Linked DNA regions of Homo sapiens: region 1 is linked to region 2. The links are contacts of gene promoters, found by promoter capture Hi-C in human tissues and cell types (Jung and others, 2019). All regions are on one chromosome and are shown on one strand. Each heading gives the region's core, a stretch centred on a gene start or on the middle of the fragment in contact. The rest is flanking DNA. Distances are from core to core; before and after follow the strand shown. Region 1 holds the start of SSUH2 (ssu-2 homolog). Region 2 holds the start of LMCD1 (LIM and cysteine rich domains 1).

What was found. Contacts are between HindIII fragments. The study calls those that stand out against the background at their distance.
Region 1: a contact is called between a fragment that was not itself captured here and the fragment with the promoter of LMCD1 in region 2, in 1 of the 25 tissues and cell types used here (hippocampus).

What each region holds. Positions count from the first base shown.
Region 1 is chr3:8,644,449-8,647,148 of GRCh38, reverse strand. It overlaps SSUH2 (ssu-2 homolog), which reads left to right and starts at 2,351. Exons shown (of 12, transcript NM_001256748.3): 1 at 2,351-2,418. The coding sequence starts at 2,391. The HindIII fragment of the contact is 4,453 bases long and covers 1-2,700 here.
Region 2 is chr3:8,500,521-8,503,220 of GRCh38, reverse strand. It overlaps LMCD1 (LIM and cysteine rich domains 1), which reads right to left and starts at 1,398. Exons shown (of 6, transcript NM_014583.4): 1 at 1,241-1,398. The coding sequence starts at 1,282. It overlaps LMCD1-AS1 (LMCD1 antisense RNA 1), which reads left to right and starts at 1,563. Exons shown (of 4, transcript NR_033378.1): 1 at 1,563-1,750. The HindIII fragment of the contact is 11,258 bases long and covers 1-2,700 here.

The sequences.
Region 1 (2,700 bases), core at 134-2,633, 140 kb before region 2:
GTCTGACCACGTGGTTCCTTGATTCCCTTCTAAAGCTCTGCCCTACCCTAATTCTTGCTGCAGCCATGACATATCCCAAGACAGACACCCACCTGTGAGATTACATAGATTTTATTTCCAGGAAAAAACAAGGTTCTTAGACAGCAATCAATTGATAGAGTCAGCTCCTGGACAGCTGTGCTAATTCCACAAATGTTTCTTGAGCACTTAGCACATGCAGGACACGAGGGCCAGTTCAGGAGGAGCTCTCAGAGCCCACTCATTTCCATCAACAGCAGGGAGGAAGAATGACTGTCAGATGTCAGGCACATAGTGGGCGCCTCTCTTCCCTGATCCCAACCTCCTTTGATAGTAAGAGGCAGGGACCAGTACTAGCCTCACACTGTCGTGGGTCCCAGAGCTAATGCTGCTTGTTCCTGCTGCTACCACGGATGTTAGGTGTTGATGGGTACATTACTTGCCCCGAGTCACTCAAGCACACTGTTGCAGACAGCACTTCTGTACGGATGCCGAAGCAAGATCAGAAAGGTCTAGCTGTTGGTTTGTTTATCTTCCATGCGTTTTAAGAGCTTTTTATTAACTTACTATTATGTGATCTAAGTAGCGTGCAGAAAAGGACTGTCATTTCTGCTGATCAGCACTTCCTGGTTACGAAAATACAGCTCAGCGTTGTCTGCATTTTTGCGGCCTCAAGATTTCGGGTCCTTGTAATGCTTAATTCTCTTCAACATTTTGTTCAATTTGACATTTAAAGAATTTTCTGTGGTTGTTCCTTTTAAATGCTGAGGAGGGTTTTAGGTAAGCATATATTGCGCTTAAAAAGTACTCAAGATGTAATAGTGGTATATTGTTTTAGTTAAGTTGCAAGCATTTTGTCATTAATCTATCATTTATCATGTTTTGGCTCAAATATATACACACATGCAAACACACACCTAAACAGATACAGCAATGGATGCTCACACAGATGTTTAGGGTAAAATATACACGCAGAGAAAGGCATACAAATTCATGATAACCCCATTTACCATGGGGACAATTCTATAAGGGCTTAAAATCATTGCTTCATGTATAAAGGCATCAAAAGACCACATTTGTTCCTCAGGATCATGGTCTTCCTTGTGTATACACAGTAATGAAACTTATATGACTCTCAAGTATCAGAAATCCAGTGCTCCTACCAGCCATAAAAATCGATTTGTGAGGACTGAGTCACCTAAGAAGCATTTGTGAAATTGTGAATACTGCTGAAGGTTGCACTTGCATGCTGTCGGCGATGGGCAGTCAGTGACGAGGGTGAAGGCAGTAGAGAGAATAAAGACACGCTCTTTATGGAGCAGCTGGGAGCCATCTCTGTGCAGTGTGGCCATCCCAGACAGGCCGACATTTAGGACACTGACAAAATAGTCCTGATGCTTCCCCTGGTGAAGGCAATCCCAGGTTGTCATTGAGGAATATCATGGCACATCCCACGTGCATTGCTGGGATGGGGAAGTCAAGGCGTAGGGCAGTTTCATCACCCTGGCCAGAGAACCCCAGGTTCAGCTGCAGAGGAGTGATTGCCAAGGATGCAGTGGAGGGGGTGGGACCCATAGAGCCTCGGGGACCAGCTCACAAGTTCTGTGTTTAGACTCATGCAGAGGAGGATGATCTTCCAAGGGCTGAGGTTGAAGGGGTGTCAAACTCCAATGGAAAAGGTTTAGGAAAAGACCTTTTACAAATCCAAAGATGTTTCACAGTGGGCGAGGCTGGTGTGGCGACAGTAGTGGCCCACATGGCTGGGTTGGGAGCCAGCTCTGCCCATGAGGTGCCGTGTGGCTTTGCAGTGTGGCCTCACAATCCCAGCTTTGTTTCTTCCCCAGGGAGATGAGGCTGGTGATGCTCAAGATCTCAGAGGCCCTGCCCAGGCTGAGTATCTGTATATAATATCCCCCTTGGGGAGGTAACCTTCTTGTGGTTATGACCTTTTTCTGCATGCGCCCTACAATACTTAGGAGTCTGCCTCCTACAGCTGGGCGATGTAGCTCAGTTGTCAGGCACTCTGACTAGAGAGTCAGACTGATGAGGGTTTGAATCTATCATCCTGCTCAGAAAAATGGGCATGATACCAGTGCCCCTCTCAAAGGGGTGCAGTGAGGACATGAGTAACTAGAAGCATCCATAAGAGCTTGGTCAGTAGAAGGCTCTTGTGGAAGAGGAGCTCCCAGAACCCGGTGGATTGGGTGCAGAGCAGCTGCTATGATGAACGATATAGATGTTTCCCTTTGTTGTATTCCAACTGGGTAACAATGGGCCTGCTGTTCTGGGAGGGGCCTGAGGGTGGTCCATCAGAGCACATCGGTCCAAGCACACTCGAAGGGCAGACATCTCTTTGGCAGGACGTCTGGAACATGGACAGGGATCTGAATGAAGATGACAGTAAGTAGAGCCTCAAAGATGGCACGGAAGACTGTGTGGAGATATTTTAGCCTGCATTTGAAGAGGACCTAATCTGACCTCTAATATGTTGGAAGTTATGTATCCATAGTCTTTTCTAATAAGCTCTGTAGCTAGCACTGTGTGAACTCTTCCATCTGCCCTAAATGCAGTCCTGGGTCTGCATCTGGATTGCCGAGAGCACCCCTTCCTTCCTTCCTTCCTCTCGTGTGTAAAGCCTACCTGTAGCTTGCGATCTCTTCTTCCGTTATGAGCCTTTGGACA
Region 2 (2,700 bases), core at 149-2,648:
TGTTTTTCCCCCTCTCATTCTACCCTGCAGGTTAATGGCAGATATTTAAGGAAGACTTTGCCCTTCAAGACTAAACCCTGTGAAATCAGAGTTTAACAATGACTGCTTTGGGAAATTAACTCACAGTGTCAGTATCCCTGCTACCACTGCCATGAGGGAGGTTAGGCCTATCCTCCCCACATCAGAGACAAGGAAACTGAGGCTCAGAAAAGTGACCTGGTGAATCATGTGCAGTTAAAAAGTGGCAGGGACTGAGTCTGGATGCCTAGGGCTTGCCTTACAGTCAGCTGCCTGTTAGAACCAACTCTCTGTGACCCCGGGCCTCAGTTTCCCGATCTGTAAAGCCTAGGTTGTCTCTCTGTTCCCTTCCCGTTCACATGTTCTCTAAGTCTCCAGCCTGTGCCTTCTCCCAGCTGCATTCAGGTAGGCAACAAGTGGTATTGGAGCTATAGGCACAGCCGCAGGCTCCTGTGCAGGAGTTTACCCATGACCTTCTGGGCTCCGGGCCAGCCCTTCTTGTAAGGGAAACGTGCAGACCCTGGGGACAGAAATCAGTTCCCTTATGCTGGAACTGCTGCCACTGCCAACATCACCAACTAAAGAAACTGCGTGCGTGTGTGTGTGTGTGTGTGTGTGTGTGTGTGTGTGTGTATTGGGGGAAACACACAAAACACTGGGATAATAGCAAAAGGGAGACTGTGAGTAAATATTACATGCTCTCAACCCTTACTTCAGCCACCTGAGGACAGGGAGTGAGGAAGCTAGGGGTTTTTCCTTTACAGACCATAAGATTTCATATATATATATTATATATTATATATATTTTATATATAATATATATTATATATATTTTATATAATATATATTATATATTTTATATATAATATATATTATATATAATATATATTTTATATATTATATATAATATATATTATATATATTTTATATATATATTTTATATACATTTTATATATATTGTATATATATGTAAAACCTTAATTAAACTTTAACTAGCATCACCAAAGACATAAGACCCTTTGCAAATATTTTACACAACATTGGGTTTGGGGTGTGTGTGCCTGTTAGCTCAAACATGTATTCCCAACTATTTGTTTTCCATGCAGTTTTGGAATTTAAAGAGTTCCCTTCTCATTACCTTTTGGGAAGTTTCCGCGAACAGATGGGAAGGGGAACAAGAAAAAGTAAGAATCTGGGTAAATACAAACAGCTTTCCACTCACCTTTTTAACTCCTGGGTTGAGGTCCTTAGCCACCTTTGCCATCCTCTTCTGGGGTGGGGGAACAGCGCCTGGCTTCTCAGGCAGAGGCGCGAGGGCGCGCAGCGGGGACAGCGGCGGCTGAATGGCCAAGTTCGCGGGCCTGGGAGGGAGCTCTGTGCGCAGCCAGGCGCAGCTGGGCCGCTTTAATTGGAGAGCGGGACTCCCTCTAAAACCTCGCCAGCCACTCCGCGCCGGCGCTCGCGCGAGGCCAGCCAATCCCAGCGCGAGGCTGTCCCCCTCCCTCAGGGAGGTCTCTGCACTGTGGCAGCGAGCGGAGCTGAGCGCCGGCTGCCCTGACGTCAGCATGGCCGCGGCCCCTGACTACCCAGCTCCCTTCTATCCCTCGAGCGGCAGGAATCCGTCCCCACGCCCTTTTCCTTTAAAGGGCAACGGGCCGAAGGTGGGGCGGGCGGCGCGGCTCCCGCGATCCATTCAGGTCAAAAGGGAGAGTGATCAAACAGGAGAGCCGAGGTATTTTTAGTGAGCTGGATCCAGAAATAAATGCTGAGCTGTGCTCCCCTTCCCACCCTTTCTGCCTGGTCGTAGGGGGCGCGGGGAGGGCTGAGGGAGGAGGTGTTTTGCAGGAGCTGGCTAACGTTTCCCAAACCTGGGCGAGTTCTCCAATATCCAGAGAGGAGAAAAGATTCCAGCGAGTTATGATTTTTTTAAACTTAACGTTCGTAAAGTATTAAACTGCTTTCTTATAACTTGCTTTAACATAAATCCTTCTTATTCCATGAGCAAGAAATCACTGTCCTGATCTTAGAGATGCTCCTGTGGACATACTGTCTTGTTGTATGCTCATATTATCTCAGATATTATTATTATTATGACTGTAAGACGATAGATGAGGAAATAATCAGAATAACTGGTCCACAGCTGAATTACTGAGCAAGGCTTTAACCTGAGAGACTGAGAGTAATAGAGAGAAAGCTCATGGGGGCGTGGCGGGGGGGGGGAGGGAGGCGGCGGGCACAGGATTGTAAACTATAAACTAGGAAGTTAGTAATTTTTAGATAAATGGGGTCATGCAGGCCTGGACAAACAAGATTCCATCTGAGTTCACAAATCCATGGAATGTGGAGTCCTTGCAACGCATAACATAACTACTCTTATAAGACAGAATTGGCCAGGTTCCTCTCTCTATGCCACGTTGTTTGCCTATAAAGCCACATCTCTCTGCTGAGCCGGTTCCACAGACTTGGATTCCAGAGGCATTTCCCCCCTGCCCTGACAGAGGATTAAACACAAGCCCTTTTTATCCTAGAGAGAATACTGCTGTCTCTGTTGTGAGGTGTTCGGCCTGTAACCCGTCTTTGCAGTGCCCCCTGCCAGAAAAACCAGGGTCCCGTGGGCTAAAATAAAACTCGGTTGCACAGAGACTGAAGAGTGGTCCCGAAGTACACCATTCGGGAGGGATT